Regions from separate parts of the Homo sapiens genome. Here regions 2, 3, 4, 5, 6 and 7 are each linked to region 1. The links are contacts of gene promoters, found by promoter capture Hi-C in blood cells and fetal thymus (Javierre and others, 2016). All regions are on one chromosome and are shown on one strand. The core of a region is centred on a gene start or on the middle of the fragment in contact, and the rest is flanking DNA. Distances in the headings are between cores, read along the strand shown. Region 1 holds the start of ANTXR1 (ANTXR cell adhesion molecule 1). Region 2 holds the start of NFU1 (NFU1 iron-sulfur cluster scaffold). Region 3 holds the start of GFPT1 (glutamine--fructose-6-phosphate transaminase 1). Region 4 holds the start of PROKR1 (prokineticin receptor 1). Region 5 overlaps GFPT1 (glutamine--fructose-6-phosphate transaminase 1). Region 6 overlaps GFPT1 (glutamine--fructose-6-phosphate transaminase 1). Region 7 holds the start of LOC124907821 (a long non-coding RNA gene).

The links. Contacts are between HindIII fragments. The CHiCAGO score rates a contact against its expected background, and 5 or more counts as called.
Region 2: a contact is called between the fragment with the promoter of NFU1 here and the fragment with the promoter of ANTXR1 in region 1, in 3 of 17 cell types (M1 macrophages, endothelial precursors and M0 macrophages). The highest score is 7.4, in M1 macrophages.
Region 3: the fragment with the promoter of GFPT1 here is called in contact with the fragment with the promoter of ANTXR1 in region 1 in 1 of 17 cell types (endothelial precursors); the score reaches 5.0 in endothelial precursors.
Region 4: the fragment with the promoter of PROKR1 here is called in contact with the fragment with the promoter of ANTXR1 in region 1 in 5 of 17 cell types (total CD4 T cells, fetal thymus, total B cells and 2 more); the score reaches 6.9 in total CD4 T cells.
Region 5: a contact is called between a fragment that was not itself captured here and the fragment with the promoter of ANTXR1 in region 1, in 4 of 17 cell types (endothelial precursors, M0 macrophages, M1 macrophages and 1 more). The highest score is 9.8, in endothelial precursors.
Region 6: a fragment that was not itself captured here is called in contact with the fragment with the promoter of ANTXR1 in region 1 in 8 of 17 cell types (M2 macrophages, M1 macrophages, neutrophils and 5 more); the score reaches 15.9 in M2 macrophages.
Region 7: a contact is called between a fragment that was not itself captured here and the fragment with the promoter of ANTXR1 in region 1, in 6 of 17 cell types (M1 macrophages, megakaryocytes, M2 macrophages and 3 more). The highest score is 7.5, in M1 macrophages.

What each region holds. Positions count from the first base shown.
Region 1 is chr2:69,011,908-69,014,452 of GRCh38, reverse strand. ANTXR1 (ANTXR cell adhesion molecule 1) reads right to left here and starts at 1,274. Exons shown (of 18, transcript NM_032208.3): 1 at 802-1,274. The coding sequence starts at 953. The HindIII fragment of the contact is 7,309 bases long and covers 1-2,545 here.
Region 2 is chr2:69,436,165-69,438,709 of GRCh38, reverse strand. NFU1 (NFU1 iron-sulfur cluster scaffold) reads left to right here and starts at 1,275. Exons shown (of 8, transcript NM_001002755.4): 1 at 1,275-1,349. The coding sequence starts at 1,288. RefSeq lists an enhancer at 1,270-1,419. The HindIII fragment of the contact is 2,434 bases long and covers 1-1,614 here.
Region 3 is chr2:69,385,962-69,388,506 of GRCh38, reverse strand. It overlaps GFPT1 (glutamine--fructose-6-phosphate transaminase 1), which reads left to right and starts at 1,280. Exons shown (of 20, transcript NM_001244710.2): 1 at 1,280-1,442. The coding sequence starts at 1,436. RefSeq lists silencers at 861-970, 1,031-1,700 and an enhancer at 929-1,488. The HindIII fragment of the contact is 6,543 bases long and covers 1-2,545 here.
Region 4 is chr2:68,642,305-68,644,849 of GRCh38, reverse strand. PROKR1 (prokineticin receptor 1) reads right to left here and starts at 1,271. Exons shown (of 3, transcript NM_138964.4): 1 at 1,002-1,271. The HindIII fragment of the contact is 2,701 bases long and covers 639-2,545 here.
Region 5 is chr2:69,345,750-69,348,294 of GRCh38, reverse strand. GFPT1 (glutamine--fructose-6-phosphate transaminase 1) reads left to right here. Exons shown (of 20, transcript NM_001244710.2): 11 at 1-124; 12 at 2,296-2,391. Among named protein-coding and RNA genes, the nearest start is that of GFPT1, 40 kb to the left of the region's middle. The HindIII fragment of the contact is 927 bases long and covers 821-1,747 here.
Region 6 is chr2:69,325,214-69,327,758 of GRCh38, reverse strand. GFPT1 (glutamine--fructose-6-phosphate transaminase 1) reads left to right here. Exons shown (of 20, transcript NM_001244710.2): 19 at 684-845; 20 at 1,526-2,545. The coding sequence ends at 1,570. Among named protein-coding and RNA genes, the nearest start is that of GFPT1, 61 kb to the left of the region's middle. The HindIII fragment of the contact is 9,540 bases long and covers 1-2,545 here.
Region 7 is chr2:69,284,726-69,287,270 of GRCh38, reverse strand. It overlaps LOC124907821 (a long non-coding RNA gene), which reads right to left and starts at 450. Exons shown (of 2, transcript XR_007086810.1): 1 at 1-450. The HindIII fragment of the contact is 2,743 bases long and covers 1-2,545 here.

The sequences.
Region 1 (2,545 bases), core at 25-2,524:
GTAGCCCACCAGTCAAATGGCCAAGAGCTTGAATTCACTACATCTGGGGTACTCAAGTCGAAGGGGAGGGACATTTGGCAATGTCTGGAGGCATTTTTAGTTGTCACCACTAATAAGGAAGGAGTGGGGGGCGGGGGATGTTACTGGCATCCAGTGGGCAGAGGCCAAGGATGCTGCTAAACATCCTACAACGCGCAGGACAGCCCCCACCACAAAGAATTACCAGGTTTCAATCTCAGAAGTGCCAAGGTTAAGAAACCCTGCCTTTCATTCTCACTCAGTGCCCGGTGAGAAGTATGCATTACATGATTAGGAGCAAAGATAATGCCTTCCGTGGGACAGCGTTTCAAAACAAAACAAAAAAACAAAAACAAAAACAAAATGCGACGATTGGCTTTAAAATGCCCAAGCCTCTAACTTTAGGAGTGCCTGTGCCTGCAAGTTCTGCCTTTGGTAAGCAAGCCTTTCCCACCAACACGGGAGGGAGTCACAGAAACTCAGCAAGACAATAGCATCCTCCAAGCCCCTTGCCTGCTCCTGGGACACAGAAAGCAAGACAGAAAAGAAGTCTGTCCCCTTCCGAGCAAGCGGCGTCGCCTCGGCTGCGGGCTCTGGAGCCGAGGCTGGGAGGAGCGCGCCCCAACAAAGGCGCAGCACTCCGCCGCCGCCTGCCGCGCGGTCCCTCTGTGGCCCTGGAGATGCGCTCCTGTCCCCAGGCGACCCTGCCAACGAGCCCGGCCCGGGGCGAAAGCGTTTTCGCCCGCTTAGCCTGGGGTGGGGGGGACAACTCGCGGCACTTACTTGTCCAAAATGAAGTACAGGTCAAATCCGCCGTAGCAGGCTGGACCCCCATCCTCCCTGCGTCCCCCTTGCCCGGCGCAGATGAGCACCAGAGTGGCCAAAGAGAGCCACTGGAAGCCGATGCCGAGGGCTCTCCGCTCCGCCGTGGCCATGGCCCGCAGCCCGGGGAGAGCAGGGTCCGCTCCTTCCCACGCTCCGCGAACTCGCCACGACCCTCAGGGACGCGCCATCCGCGGGCCCTTCCTCGCGGGTCCTTTATTCCCCCTCGCTCCCTCGCAACTCCCCGGAAGCAATTGTCTGGAGGAGTTCAAGGTTTCCCCTCTGGTTTCCGCTCCGATGCTGTTTCTGGGTTTCGGGTTTCAAGGATCCCAATCCTGTCCTCCGCTTCTTTTAAAGGGGAGGGCTGCCTCGGTCCGGGGCCGCCGGGCAGCTCCCGAGGCCGCGCCGAGCTTTTGCAATGGAAGGAGTTCCGTCCCGACGGTTCTTTGTCCCAGATTTTAAATATGATGGGGGGGGGGGGGGGTTTCAAATTGTTCTTGGTGGGGGCAGTGCTTTGCCTTCTCTCCTTCCTCTCTGCCCCCCTTTCGCGTTCTTACGGGGAAGAAAGTTCAAAGGCTGCCACCTTGTGGACAAAGGCGGCGAAAGCACGCGTGGGACCCGCGGGAGTGCGTCGGGGGCGGGGGCGCTTCCAGGCTTCGCGTATAAATTTCCTTGTCCTTACCATTCTCATGTGAGCTGTGCGTGTTTTCTTACTCCTTCCTTCTTCCCACGCACTTTCCCTTTCTTTTTCCGTGACCGCCTCTCCATTCTCTGTAGTCCTTCTATTCCTTCTTTTCCTTCCCTATCCTGCATCTTTTGATAAGGTCACTAAACATTGGATGAGAATTTGTTTCCTCCAACCACGGTGACTCCGGCTCCCCAGGCTAGGACCTTTGCAAACAAACCATTGTGCAGATGAAGTAGGGGAAAAACGGGACCTTTGTGGTATGAGTCATCAGAGTGACCTTACATGGTCTTAGTCTGTCTGGACCATAAAAGAGACTGTTGGGGTCCGGTCTGAAACCATCACAAACAACCCCACAGAGTGTGGTACTTAGGGCTGCTCCCGGCATGGAACAGCTGAGCCTTCTAGATGGCCACCATCTCCATCTTTTAGGGATTCTATGATAATAGTTCTTCTTTTCAGCCTGTGAACTTTGACATTTTCTCTCTATCTTTGATTTAGGATGGAGGAAGTAAACAGCTTACAAGAGTAGAGACGCTCCAAGCAGTTTGGAATTGGCAGGGAAGTTCCGTGCTAGCCTCTCTAAATTGGAGAATCAGCCTCTGAGCCCCAGTTCCGAGTGGTACCCCAGTTCTAGCTTCCTATTGTCTTCCGCTCTGGGAGCCCTCAGTGCATATGCATGTACTGTTTTCCCAGGATTCTTCCTCCAGACACACATATTCCCCTCCACTTGTGTGCCTCCCAGACCCTTATACCCCAATGTGACAGTCCATGGTGGTTTCCCCCAACATGTGTACCATGGAATCTTAGTGTCTTGGAATGCTCCACTAACCAATAATCATGTTGTCAAATCAGCCTTGAAGATTTGTCATGCGTAGCACTGACCTGCCTCCAAAATGAACCCAGTGTTTCTCACCTCCTGGAATTCACACCCCTTCCACCTTGGGTGAGACTGACCTGTGAGTAATTAAGAAGATGGTGTGTGGCTTCTGAGGATAGGCCATGAGAGATGTTGTGGTT
Region 2 (2,545 bases), core at 26-2,525, 420 kb before region 1:
ATTACTAGGGTTGTCTTGGGTGTGGCCTCAACCTGTTCAACAACAGGTGTGCTGTTTCCATTCTGGAAACCAGTCCTCTGTCTTCCAGAACAGTGATTCTCAAATTTTAGCTGGCATCAGAATCCTGGGAAGGGTTTGTTAAAACACTACTAGGCAGGGTGAGGTAACCTAAGAGCTTTTGGAGGCCCAGGTGAGAGGGATCACTTGAGGCCAGCAGAGTTCAAGAGCAGCCCAGGCAACACAGGGAGACCTCTTCTCTACAAAAATACTACTACTACTACTGCTAATAAAAGCCAGGCACCGTGGCTCACACCTGTAATCCCAGTGCTTTGGGAGGCTGAGGCTGGAGGATGAATCACTTGAGCCCAGGAGTTGGTTTTGGTGAGCTATGATCGCACTCCTGCTCTCCAGCCTGGGCAACAGAGATAGACCCTGTCTCTGGAAAAAGAAAAAAAAAAAAAGCAAGTAACAAAGATTTCTAGTCCCCACCTACAGAGATTGTGCCTCAGTAAGTATAAAGTGGGGCCCAGGATTTCTAACATGTTCTAACGTGCATTTCTAACGTGTTCTCCTGCTTTTTTTTGGCCCCTAGTCCGCACTTTGAGAACCGTTGTCCTAGAGAAAACGGAATACTCCAGGAAGGTTCTGGAAGAATAGGTAATGGGCTTTGGCACTCTGCCCTGGAAACTAGTCAAGTCTCATGTTAATCGGAGAAGGGCAGCACTGTACCAGATACATCCTCTGTGCGGGTTGGTCCAAGATGACCAAGTGGCAGCTGACAAGCACAGCTATGAGGAAGGGTTAGACACAGTTCCACATCAGACCCATGGGAAAAGGGCAGGAGAAATGCGAGAACCTTTTAGAAGGAATGCTCCAGGGAGTCTTTGGGGGCAGTCACTGAGCTGGGCCTGGAGGCTGAGTAGGGTCCTAGAGGAGGGAATGGGTCAGGTTTAGGGGCTGGAAACAGCATTCGCAAGGCAGCACCAGCACCAGCTAAAAACCTAGCCAACAGGGAAAACAAAGTACGGAAACACGCATGCGTTCACAGTGCTGCGTGAATTAACCAAGCGTTGGCGCAAACGGGAAAGGTTCCCCGGCCTCTCTTGGTCAGGGTGACGCAGTAGCCTGCAAACCTCGGCGCGTAGGCCACCGCACTTATCCGCAGCAGGACCGCCCGCAGCCGGTAGGGTGGGCTCTTCCCAGTGCCCGCCCAGCTACCGGCCAGCCTGCGGCTGCGCAGATCTTTCGTGGTTCTGTCAGGGAGACCCTTAGGCACTCCGGACTAAGATGGCGGCGACGGCCAGGCGGGGCTGGGGAGCTGCGGCTGTTGCCGCCGGGCTGCGCAGGCGGTAGGTGACGAGCCTGGAGCTCCGAATAGGTGTGCCGCTGGGCTTAGCCAGCGGAGCGGTCGCCGCCTTGCAGACCCTCTCTCGAGGCGGGTGGGTAGTGCATCTGATGGAGCCGGCGGGTCCGCCCTGTCGCCGTAGTTGGGGGTGAGCCCTGAGGCTGTCTGTGCGGGAGCTCGGCGCTTCTGTGGCCTAATCCGGGCGGACTCTCTGGAGCTTCCTCTCAGGCTCAGAGACCCAGTTCTTGAGTCTCTGCGGTACGGAAGCTTGTAGAGACTGGCTGTAGAGCCAGAACGGAGGAGCTGTTTTAAAATCGTGTGCCTCTCCCGCCCCCAGGCCCTCTACCGGGTGCATTCCCTCCTCTTCTAAACGCAGAATCAGAATGTCACACAGAAGGGAAGAAAATACCTTGTCTCGTTTCCTCATTTTCCCAGTAAGGCCCTGAAAGAGGAGGTGACATGTCCAAGGTTACACAGTTTCTAAGTGATGGAATTCCGACGAGAACCAGGACCCCTAGATTCCCTGCACCCACCACCATTAAGCCCACTCTGTTCCCTTGTTTTTTCCGCCTCCCTGAGCCCTACCTTTGAGTTTCACCTTTCAAAGACTTCTGTGAACATTGCTAAGAGGACATTTATGTAGGTGTACCTTAATTTTACGTCTGGAGAAAATGGCCTACGGAGAGTTTGCCCTCTAGAGTATTAGACATTGTAGTGTTAATGGTGCTCTTGAAGTTTAAATGTATATCCTAAAAAGATTTAAGTTGGTAGAATTTTTTGTTAGTTACCTCCTGTGTTTGAGTAGATGTCTTCCTTGAATAATGTAATCCACTCTTACTTTAAAAAAACAAGACTTTAAACCTGTATGTTGGAATGTGCTTCCTCTTTATTCATTCTGCTGCCTTTTCCCTGGGCTGAAGGGACGAGAATATTATTCTTCTAGTGCATTTCCAAATTCCAGAGTATTCACAGATTTAGATACTGAGCTATAGAAAAAGGCATTTTTACCCCAAACCTTGAACTGCACTCAATTAGTAATTATTGGGCACCAATTAAATAATGGTAGCAGCTGCCATTTATTGAGCACTTACTGCATGGCCTGGCACTGGTTTAAGCACTTTACATGGATTCTCTGGATTATTTATGAGGTAGCTGTGAAACTAATCTCATTGTAGAGATGAAGAACTGAGGCCATTGTGC
Region 3 (2,545 bases), core at 31-2,530, 370 kb before region 1:
AGAAAATCATAAAATATCAAAGAATATTTCTTTACAGTGAGTAGCTCAAAGAGTAAGAGGTTAATGCATGTCTCCAAGTCTGTCTAGGGGGGATAAAAAAGGCTTTCCTGAAGAGGTAGCATCTAAACAGAGACGTGGTGGGGATTCTATGCAGAGTAACCAAAGTGTGCAAAAGATTTGAGAATCTTGGCCCAGTTGAGGAACTACCTGTTGAGCCTGTTGGGAGTGTATAGGGCTGGAAGGACGGCTAAGACCAGACACATGAACAGCAGTCAGCAGGCTAAGACCAGACACATGAACAGCAGTCAGCACTCCAGGAATTCTGTGTGCCATGTACGTTTTTGATACTACTCTACTCTAGAGCCATTATAGAGTTCTGATTACTCCACATTTGACTAAAGATACCATTTAAGGCTGTTTAAAGCAAATGCCCAGGTAATAAATTCTCAGAAACATCATCCCTCTCTAATCAAGTCTCTCTTGTCAGACATGGCGCATTAATTCATAGAATGAATCGTTCGTAAGTCAAACGCGCGGCTGTTAAAGCTAGGGAATTCCTAGCCGTCTCAGGTGGGTCATGGGAGGAGGTGGGCCAGCAGTTTCTTACGTCCAGGCTCATAGTCGGATAGTTGAGCCTTACATTCCTCCTCTACCCCTCCACAATAAACTGAGGGTTATGGAGGCAACGGATGCGGAGGGCTTTTAGGGGCCAAGCATATTACACAAGGAATTGAATTGCTTATTACCAGAGAGGCTGACCTTTGGGGCTTTACAGTCAAGAATTTTGTTATCTCTCTCCTCCCACCTCAACCTAATTCTTTGCAATTTTTTTCAGCCTTATGTTCCCCAGGATTCCCTTTTCATACTTCCTGCTTTTTTCCTCCTCTTTCCTCGCTTCGTGCAGTGCTGGCGCCTGGGGCCTGGGGCTGCACGGGGCACGCACCCGGGCTATTGCTTTGCTAACAATTCCATCCTTCTCTTTCCGTCATTCCCTGCCAGGTGCTGAGTTTCTCCCTCCCTCTCGGCTCGGTCCCTCCCGCGGCTCGCCCCGGGGCGGGCGTCTCCAGGAACTCCAGGCGGACGCGGCCACGAGCCACTGCCACGTCGCCGCCGCCAGCAGTCCAGCGCCTGCGTGGGCTCGGGGGGCGGGGCAGCGCTGGGAGGCGGGACTTGCGCGTGAGCGGCGCGTGAGCGGTTCAATGGAGCCTACGGGCGGCGGCGCGCTGCGCGCCGAGGGGCGGGGCCCGGCGGCGGTTGCTGGCGGAGCCCGGGAGGCGGAGAAGGCTGTCGTTGCCTTGGCCGTCGCATCCCCGAGGGAGTCGTGTCGGCGCCACCCCGGCCCCCGAGCCCGCAGATTGCCCACCGAAGCTCGTGTGTGCACCCCCGATCCCGCCAGCCACTCGCCCCTGGCCTCGCGGGCCGTGTCTCCGGCATCATGTGTGGTAAGGGGGCCGGGAGCGGGGGGCGTGTTGCCGGGTGGCGCTGGGGTGCGGTGCGGGTGCCGCTAAGGCCCAAGGCGACGGGCGGAAGCGGGAGTGTGGAGGGTGCGAAGTCTGGGTGATGGGCAAGGGGCGCCCAGTGGTGGCTGCGGGGGCGGGGGCCGGCATCCACGGGCGGGAGAGGGGGTGGCGGCCGGGAGAAAGGCACCTGAGAGGAAGGCGGGCCCCCTTTGCCGGGGGCTAGCGGGCGCCTTGGCGCGGAGAAGGAACCGAAAGGGGAGAGAAACGCCTTTATTGAAAAAGGAGGAGAGAGCTGAGGGAATTGAGGTGTGGAGGGGGTTGCCTTCAAAAGGGCCCACCAGGTGAGTGAGGAAACCTGTGGAACCTCGGGCGAGGTCTCTTGAACTTACCTTGCATTTTTCTAAAAATCTTTAAAAAAATATTTTACTTGTTTCTGGGGAGGCCCAATAGAAAACAGACCCTAGCTAGAGCCACGGTAGTGCCATTAAACGTGATACTTCCTGCCATCCCTTGTCTCAACAGAAACCATTGCTAATCAATAACTTGGTTCATGGGCTTAGACCTGATCCTCTGGTGGAAGAGGCCTTCAAATGTCTGTGGCGATAGGTTATACATAATTTATCATTTGCGTGTGCACCCATTAAAAATGCCAGCTCTGAAAAATATCAGTTATACCTTGGATGTATACCCCTTTAGAATACCAACTATGAAAAATATCATTTATCCCTTGCATGTGCATCCATTAAAAATACTAGCTATGGAAAGTTGAGCAAATATCTTTCCTAGAGCCTTAAAAAATTAAGGTTAGGCCCTTTTATTCCATGTTTTGAGAGTCGTTTATTATGACCTAAGTGTTAGTGAAAGAGACTTTGAGAATCGTGTCTGACATGACTGATATCTTCTAAAATTGGTGTTAATTTGGCTATTGCCAGTAAAAATAATTGTATTCTTACCTTTCTTATTGAAATTTACAACCGACTTTATCCCTGGAAGAAAGTACACTTTTTTTTTTTTTTTTTAAAGGGAAGTACCATTGTAAGAGAATTGAAAACTCTCTGGGAGACTTCTTATTTGCAGCCTTTTAC
Region 4 (2,545 bases), core at 22-2,521, 370 kb after region 1:
GGTGAGGGGTCTAGGGGGGTGTCAGCTGCCCTGGTGGGGACAGGGAGGCAGCCAGAGTCCCCCTGTCCCCTGCTCTCTCCCTGCAGTCCCTCCCAAACCCTGAAGACATCAGACCAGGGAGTGGGACGTAGAAGGAGGGCTGAGGTCTGGAGAGCACCCTAAAACAAATGTCAGGAGAACAGAGGGAAGAATGCAAGCCAGAGTTTTCCTGGGAAAGGAAGATGAGGAAGATGCCCAGGACCCCACCTCCCCACCCCCAGGAAAGCCTGCTCTCCATATTCCTCCGAGGCAAAACATCTGGAGCCTGTCTTCTTGGGGCCAAGTTTAAAGTCCCTCTGCGCCCCAGTGAGGCTCAGCCCCATTGCTGCCTCTCTGTCCTAACTCCTTACCCTGATTTTTTCCTTCCTCCGAGCTCTCAATTCTGTCTGGCTCAGCCCTTGCCCTCTGCCCACTCAGGGAGGAGAGGCAGAACTCAGCTGAAAAGAAGGAGGGGGGCAGGCTTGGAACCCAGGCGGGACAAGCCCCACTCCTTGCAGGTCCCGTGGGTCGCAGAGGCATGCCACTCCTGGAGGGGTACCCCTACAAGCATGCTACCTGAAGGGTCAAAGTAGTGTTTAAAAGCAAAGAATACAGAAGCTTCGGGGGTGGAGAGGAGGGCGTCACGAGATTAAGGATGATTGTCCAGAGGTCTTTTCTCCTTTATTCTCACCGTTCAGAGGGGAACCCCAATCCTACCCCCACCTGGTGACCTCTCGATCGCTAGAAGCCTCTCTCACAAACCCCTGCTGGCAAGTCCCCCGCCTGCTCCCAACTTTCTCCCTGGAGCCTGGGCAGCTTCCCCTAAGGACAGAGGAGGGGAAGCCTGGCTCTCCTGAAGAAACTCACAGGAGTGAATCCCTGGCAAAGTCCCCTCTTCACTCAGAAGCCGCCGCACCCCACGGCCGCAGCCAGTGCAGCGCGGGGTCCCTGGAGCATCCTCCCCGGGAGGGCGCGCTCTGTACCTGCGGCATCGCGGAGCCCGGCAGGCAAGGTCCGGGTTTCTTATTCCGGGGCCGGATCAGGAGACGCTTCTTCCAGAAGCCGGCAGGCGAAGGGCAGGTCCCCGCTCCCTTCCTCCTCTGCTCGGGGCTCTTTCCCGGCTCTGGCGGGGGAGTTACCTTCGCGCCGCCGCTGCAGATCCCCCGACCCGGCCCGCGCCGGACTCCCTGTCCCCGCCTCCGGTGGCCGTGAGGCGCCGAGGTGCGGGCTCTTGGCGAGGCGTGTCGCCAGCTGGGCTGCAGAGGCCGGGATCGCCCTGGGCGGGAGCGTCCGGATCGCCCTGGGCGGGAGCGTCTGGAGCTCCCAGGCGGCAGCTCGCGACGAGGACGCGCGGGAGGGAGCCGGGCCAGGCGGGCTGCGCGTTGCCCGGCTCAGGCTTCGGAACGGCCGCCTGGGGCAGGAACGGGGTCGCTGGGGCTCCGGGCAGGGCTCTGCGTCAATCCCGCGCCGGGGGCACCCATGCAGGGCGGCTGTGCCCGCCTCGGGGCACGGGGCTCCTCGGCGGCTCACCTTGGCAGCCCAGCGCCGTCGGAGTGGACGGACACGGCCCCGCTCAGCCGCGAGCTTGCAAAGGACCGAGGAGCCTCCCCCGCTGCTCACACACCTCCTCAGGGGACACTCAGGGGCCGGCCCCAACCTGGTCCCCTGGGCCAGCCTGAACGGACACCAGGGCCATCTTTGTTGCCAGCTGCCCTACCTCTCCGTAAAAGAGGCTCAGAGAAGTGCTTTCTGGAGAGCAAACAAGGGGGCGGGGTAGCACACTGGAGAGAGGAAGGACCCCCGCCCAGGGATGTCTGCTTAGAAGGCTGGGACGGACAGCGCTGACTTACAGAGCACAGTCTACCTTTACAAGCCCATAGATTCCTCAAAACGTGAGGCATATAGTCCCGCAATCCCACTCCAAGGTATGTAACCCCAAACTATTGAAAGCAGGGACACACATACACTGATGTTCATGGCAGCACTATTCACAGTAGCCAAAAGACAGAAACAACCCAAATGTCCATCAGCTAAGTGGATTAACAAAATACATATAGTATATACATGCAATAGAATATTATCCAGCTGTAAAAAGAAATGATAACAAGTGTTGGTGAGAATGTGGAGAAACTGGAACCCTGTGCACTGTCGGTAGGAAAGTAAAATGGTGAAGCCACTGTAGAAAACAGTATAGGGTTTCCTCAAAAAGTTAAAAAATACAATTACCATATGATCGAGTGTTTCCACTTCCGGGTGTCTAACCCAAAAAATTAAAAGCAGGGTGATACGGTTTGGCTGTGTCCCCACCCAAATCTCAACTTGAATTGTATCTCCCAGAATTCCCACGTATTGTGGGAGGGACCCAGGGGAAGGTAATTGAATCATGGGAGCCTGTTTTTCCCATGCTATTCTCGTGATAGTGAATAAGCCTGACGAGATCCTGTGGGTTTATCAGGGGTTTCCACTTTTGCTTCTCCCTCAGTTTCCTCTTGATGCTACCACGTAAGGAATGCCTTTCACCTCCTGC
Region 5 (2,545 bases), core at 35-2,534, 330 kb before region 1:
GATGATGATGTTGCAGCAGTAGTGGATGGACGTCTTTCTATCCATCGAATTAAACGAACTGCAGGAGATCACCCCGGACGAGCTGTGCAAACACTCCAGATGGAACTCCAGCAGATCATGAAGGGTGAAAGTTTTTGTCATGTTATAGCTTGCTGTCCTTACTGGAAAGAATATATTCTACTTCCTTTCCTAGCATATTAAATCTAGTAATGAATGATGAGTGGAATCTTCCACATGATTAGTGAAGGGACAACGCTAGGAAAAGGGATGATTCTTTAGAGAAATTATCTGCTGTTTTTACAATCGTCTTCAAACTAATTAATGATTTGTTATTTGTAACATTATAAAAAGGTTATTAACACTTGATACTTTAAAGATACTTTATAAACATAAAAATAGTTAATGTTCTGTTCCTTTTTATTCTCTTTGTGCTTTAGTTTTCTTATATATAACATGAGGATAATATAGCCTGCCTCATTAAGGTTGTTTTGAGGATTAAGAAGCTACTATATGGCTGGGTGCGGTGGCTCACACCTGTAATCTTAGCACTTTGGGAGGCCGAGGTGGGCAGATCACCTAAGGTGGGGAGTTTGAGACCAGTCTGGCCTTGCCAACGTGGAGAAACCCCGACTGTACTAAAAAATACAAAATTAGCTGGGTGTGGTGGCGCATGCCTGTAATCCCAGCTACTCGGGAGGCTGAGGCAGGAGAATGGCTTGAACCCGGGAGGCAGAGGTTTCAGTGAGCCGAGATTGCGCCATTGCACTCCAGCCTTGGCAACAAGAGCAAAACTCTGTCTCAAAAAAAAAAAAAAGAAGCTTAAAACAGTGTCTGACACACTTAGTCGTATGTAATATTTGCTTCTGTTAACTATTATAATTATTATGATTTGGATTATTTTATTCCTTTCTGATGGGATTGTGGTAGGAATAAAAACTAACATTGGCCAGGCACGGTGGCTCATGCCTGTAATCTCAACACTTAGGGAGGCCAAGGTAGGAGGATCACTTGAGCTCAGGAGTTTGAGACCAGCCTGGGCAACATAGTGAGACCTTATCTCTACTACAAACTAAAAAAAAAAAAAGTCCAGGTGCACTGGCTCACACCTGTAATCCTAGCACTTTGGGAGGCTGAAGCAGGCAGATTGCCAGAGCTCAGGAGTTCAAGACCAGCCTCAGCAACATAGCAAAACCCTGTTTCTACTAAAAATACAAAGAAAATTATGGGCATGGTGGCATGTACCTGTAGTCTCAGTGACTGGGGAGGCTGAGGTGGGAGAATCACTTGAACCCAGGAGGCAGAGGTTGCAGTGAGGTGAGATCGTGCCGCTGCACTCCAGCCTGGGCGACAGAGTGAGACTCTGTCTCAAACAAAACAAAACAAAACAAAACAAAACTATGAGCCGGGCATGGTAGTGTGTGCCTGTAGTCTCAGCTACTCAGGTGGCTGAGGTGTGAGAATTGCTTGAGCCCAGGAGATTGAGGCTGCAGTGAGCGGTGATCTTGCGGTGATCACTTCAGTCTGGGTGACAAAGACCCTGTCTCAAAAAAAAAAGTAAAAATAAGAAATAACATTTATTGCATAACTCTATATATATATATGTCAGATTTTTTGCTTTATTAATCCATACTACAATCCATACTGTGAAGTAATTGGTCTCTTATTTTATAGATTAATAATTTCCCCAGTTTAGATAGTAAAGGATAGAACTACAGTTTGGGTGGGTTGCACTCCAAAACTTAAAGCTTGTCCCAGTTGACTGAGTGCGGTGGCTCACGCCTGTAATCCCAGCACTTTGGGAGGCCGAGGTGGTTGGATCATGAGGTCAGGAGTTCGAGACCAGCCTGGTCAGTATGGTGAAACCTTGTCTCTACTAAAAATACAAAAAATTAGCCGGGCGTGGTAGCACACGCCTGTAGTCACAGCTACTCAGGAGGCTGAGGCAGGGGAATCCCTTGAATCCAGGAGGCCAAGATTGCAGTGAGCCTACATCATGCCACTCCACTCCAGCCTGGGTGACAGAGCAAGACTCCGTCTCAAAAAAAAAAAAGCTTGTCTCATTCACTTGTTGTAACTGCACATTTCAAGTATGAAGTTAATTAAAAGTGACTTTTACTGTTATTTTTTTCCACAGAGTAAAATATGTTCACCCAATCTTTTAGGCAGTCATGTCTATTGCATGAACTTTTGTTATATTTTATTTACCAAGATTATATTAAAGGAAACTTTTAGTTGTGTACAAATTCTTTTATTTGATTTGTTTTTGTTTTAATTATGTGATTTCTATTACTATAGGCAACTTCAGTTCATTTATGCAGAAGGAAATATTTGAGCAGCCAGAGTCTGTCGTGAACACAATGAGAGGAAGAGTCAACTTTGATGACTATACTGGTAATTACATATGAATTATTTTATTATTTCAGTGTCTCTGACAGTAGGAGGTGCCATTAACAACCTGAAAGTTCATTGCCCTTAATAGCCTTGTAGAACAACTACAGCTGCCAGCCATCAGTGGAGCCCAGCCATCTTGGAAAAAGTTCTTTAG
Region 6 (2,545 bases), core at 34-2,533, 310 kb before region 1:
AGAACTGAGGTCTTGGTCTCCACATCCTGTCTTCTTTTAGTTAACATATGCTGTTCCTTTTTAATTTAATACTTCTAAAACATTTAAAAATGTATTTTAAAATATTTTTAAATATATATTTCAGCTGGTTGCAGTGGCACATGACTGTAGTCCCAGCTACTCTGGGGACTGAGGCAGGAGGATCACTTGAGTCCAGGAGTTTGAATACAGCCTGGGTAGCATAGTGAGACCCTGTCTCTAAAACAGTAAATAAAATAAATTAAAAAAAATTACACACACGCGATATATTTCAGGGGAAATCTAACATCTAGGTTTTATTTTAATATTATATAATTGAGTTTTCTTCAGATCAGTTGGCTTTATATATAAATTCCAAAAGATATTATTCCCTAAGCACAATGTGGTGGTAATGAACTTGAGCTTTGAAGTTAGGCAAACCTGCAGTCAAGTACTAAGCCTGGTATTTCTTAGTTGCATGAGTTTAAACAAATTACTGGATCCCATAACGCTTCTGTTTCCTCGACTATAAGTAATAACAATCAGATTTACTACACAGGAATTTAAAGAAGTCTGTCCGTGAGGCTTCATATGGATTATGCAGTGCAATTTTTGCACATTCGTAAGCTATAGCCCTGCCTTTGCCCACCAGTGATGTTGTGTATGTGTGTGATTTTCTTTCCTAGGGGCGGCCTGTGGTAATTTGTGATAAGGAGGATACTGAGACCATTAAGAACACAAAAAGAACGATCAAGGTGCCCCACTCAGTGGACTGCTTGCAGGGCATTCTCAGCGTGATCCCTTTACAGTTGCTGGCTTTCCACCTTGCTGTGCTGAGAGGCTATGATGTAAGTCATCTACCACTGCAGAAATCTTGGGATGGTTTTTTACCTGGATACATTCTGATTTTTTTCTCCTAAATTTTTAACAATAGTGTTTGAGAAATCTATCAAATATATATCTGTCACCTGTTATATTTTCATGGCCCAATTTGTAGGTTACATCACAACATCTTCTTACCCATAGAACTTGAAGGAACCTTGGGGTTCACCTCCAAGATTGTGACTCACCTTGGGTAGTCTCCACCTGTTTTCTTAATATAACCTCTATCTCTTAACAGGGCAGCTATTGGCATTTGGCAGGACAATTCTTTTTTGTTTGGAACTGTCCCACACATTGAAGACTTTGTAGCATTCCTGGTTTCTCAGCCATTGTGGCAACCAAAACATAGTGCTTTTGTTTTTAGTGTCCCCTATGAGGGCTACTACTTCTGTAGAGGACCACAGTAGCTCTTTCTGTGTGAACTGGCACCTTTAGAATGCTTTTTCCTAACCAATTTCAGTTTTTTTCAGGACACATTATGTGATTATATTTTCTAATCTAATTCTTTGTAGTCTGTAATAAAGATGGTTAATGAATGTATTGTTTTCTGTTTTTATAAACAAAAATAATTTGCTTATAGTAACCACCCCCTTCCCCAGTCTATATAATCTCTCAAATCTTGCTTTTTTTTTTTTTCTTTTTGCAGGTTGATTTCCCACGGAATCTTGCCAAATCTGTGACTGTAGAGTGAGGAATATCTATACAAAATGTACGAAACTGTATGATTAAGCAACACAAGACACCTTTTGTATTTAAAACCTTGATTTAAAATATCACCCCTTGAAGCCTTTTTTTAGTAAATCCTTATTTATATATCAGTTATAATTATTCCACTCAATATGTGATTTTTGTGAAGTTACCTCTTACATTTTCCCAGTAATTTGTGGAGGACTTTGAATAATGGAATCTATATTGGAATCTGTATCAGAAAGATTCTAGCTATTATTTTCTTTAAAGAATGCTGGGTGTTGCATTTCTGGACCCTCCACTTCAATCTGAGAAGACAATATGTTTCTAAAAATTGGTACTTGTTTCACCATACTTCATTCAGACCAGTGAAAGAGTAGTGCATTTAATTGGAGTATCTAAAGCCAGTGGCAGTGTATGCTCATACTTGGACAGTTAGGGAAGGGTTTGCCAAGTTTTAAGAGAAGATGTGATTTATTTTGAAATTTGTTTCTGTTTTGTTTTTAAATCAAACTGTAAAACTTAAAACTGAAAAATTTTATTGGTAGGATTTATATCTAAGTTTGGTTAGCCTTAGTTTCTCAGACTTGTTGTCTATTATCTGTAGGTGGAAGAAATTTAGGAAGCGAAATATTACAGTAGTGCATTGGTGGGTCTCAATCCTTAACATATTTGCACAATTTTATAGCACAAACTTTAAATTCAAGCTGCTTTGGACAACTGACAATATGATTTTAAATTTGAAGATGGGATGTGTACATGTTGGGTATCCTACTACTTTGTGTTTTCATCTCCTAAAAGTGGTTTTTATTTCCTTGTATCTGTAGTCTTTTATTTTTTAAATGACTGCTGAATGACATATTTTATCTTGTTCTTTAAAATCACAACACAGAGCTGCTATTAAATTAATATTGATATATTCAGTATTCTCTTCAACTTTGTCACGAGGAAGAATTTCCTGTAGTTAATTTTAACTTTC
Region 7 (2,545 bases), core at 24-2,523, 270 kb before region 1:
GTTGTGGCCTTGTTGCTTCACTCCTGACTGGCATTGCCACTGATTTGATTCTTACCCAGTTAGATCACAAGCCATCTGAGGGCAGCAATGAGTCTGAACATTTTCATCACCCTCCAGCTCCTGGCACCTGGCAGGACCAATAGACTTGACACAGGAAAAAGTTGCTGCTTGCTGTTTATTGAACATTCTTTCCCCAGGAACCCTCTGTGCCTCTGGCCCTACAATTCTCATTAGAAAAGATTTTATGTTTTTTTAATTATGAAAAATGTCAGACTTACTAAAAGTTTGGAGAATAATTTATTTTTTTTTTAATTTTAATTTTTTTTTTTGAGATGGAGTCTCGCTCTGTCGCCCAGGCTGGAGTGTGGTGGTGCGATCTTGGCTCACTGCAAGCTCCGCCTCCCGGGTTCACGCCATTCTCCTGCCTCAGCCTCCCGAGTAGCTGGGACCACAGATGCCTGCCACCACGCCCGGCTAATTTTTTTGTATTTTTTTTAGTAGAGATGGGGCTTCACTGTGTTAGCCAGGATGGTCTCGATCTCCTGACCTCGTGATCCACAATAAATGCCATTTGCTTTTTTAAACTATTATATTTATGAGATGTATCCATGCAGATACCACTATCTCTAGTTCATTTTTGTGAATATGCCACCAATTGTTTATCCATCTAGGTGTTTTTATTGCTCACTATTACAAATAATGCTGCAGGGAACATTCTGATTCATGTCTCCTGGAAGGTTAGGGTATGTACACCTAGGAGCAGATTGCTCAGTTGAAGGTGATATGGTTTGGCTCTGTGTCCTCACCCAAGTCTCATCTCTAATTGTAATCCCCATGTGTGGAAGGAGTGAAGTGATTGGATTATGGGGGTGGTTTCCTCCATGCTGTTCTCGTGATAGTGAGTGAATTTTCATGAGATCTGATGGTTTTATAAATGGTAGCTTTTCCTGCGCTCTCACACTATCTCTCTACCCTGCTGCCATGTAAGACACACCTGCTTCCCCTTTCGCCATGATTGTAAGTTTCCTGAGGCCTCCCCAGCCAAGTGGAACTGTGAGTCAATTAAAAACCTCTTTCCTTTATAAATTATGCAGTCTTGAGTAGTATCTTTATAGCAGTTTGAAAACGGACTAATACAGAAGCGTAGGCCATATTTCTTGAGAAACAGGATGTGAAATGCAAACCTTCCTGTGATCTTATGGTGGAGGCCTGAACATCTGGGCCCAGTTTTTCCTGGTGAGCAGTTTTTCTTATTTTTACTGACTTGTAGGAGCTTTAAAGACGTTTTTCTGGATACCACTTCCTTGTCGGTTATACTCACTGTGAATGCCAACTTCCAGGCTGCATTTGCCTAGGATGCCTTAGTTACATCTTCTGCTTAAAAATACTTAAAAAATTCGATTTGAGTCAAATTTGTTTATCTTTTTCTTATTGCTTGTGTCTTTGGGTCTTGTGTGTGAACTTTTGTTAGAATTTCATCAAGCCCTGTTTAATGGAGAGATTTTTCTCTGACTCAATTCGGTAGTTTATTTTTAGTGGCATAATGGGTTTTAGTTTATATCATTTGTTAGGGTCCTCTAGCCAGGCCTAGCTCTATTATAATCCATGTAAACTAGTACTTAGGCCTGCAGAGATCCAAGCAGCTTCAAGGCCTGCCAGATCCATTTCATCTCATGGGTGGGGCCCTCTTCACCTGTCTCTCATCATAATCCTCCAAAAGAACCACCACAATCTAGCTCCTGAGCTTGGCTGGAATTTTTCCAACAAGGGCAGATTGAAATTCTTTTCTTGAATAGAGTTAGAAGGAGATTAATAAATAGAAAATAGGGGTCGTTTAGTTTGGATTTGGAACAAGACAGTTTTTTGGAGCAAGAACTTGCTTTGAAATCCCAGTCACATCATTAATTCTGAGTCTTTTTAAAAATCTATAATATAGGAATAATAGGACCTCAACTGAAGAATTTGTGATGAATATTAAATGTATAATTCTGGATACAGAACCACCACAACAAACAATAGTAGCTAAATTTGTTGAGTGCTTAATATGTGCTAGTCACAGAGCTAAATATTTGCATGAATTATCTCACTTGGTCTTTATGACAATCCTATTAAGTACCACTACCATGTAATATAAGGGTTAAGGTAAAGGTTTTGATCATGTTTAATTCTCAGCTCACCTACTTACTGTGTGACCTTAAGTTCTTGCATTTTGTTTTTCTTATCTGTAAAATGGAAATGTAATAACACACATATACATACAGTTGTCCGTTAGTATTTATGGGGAAATTGGTTCCATGGATATCAAAGTCTATCAGTGCTTAAGTCTCTTATATAAAATGGCTTAGGCCAGGCACAGTAGCTCAAGCCTGTAATCCCAACACTTTGGGAGGCTGAGGCAGTTGGATCGATTGAGCCCCGGAATTCAAGACCAGTCTGGGTAACAGGGCAAAACCTCATCTCTACTAAATGTACAAACATTAGCCAGGTGTGGTGGTGAGCACCTGTAATCCCAGGTACTTGGGAGCCTGAGGCAGGGAAGGTTGCC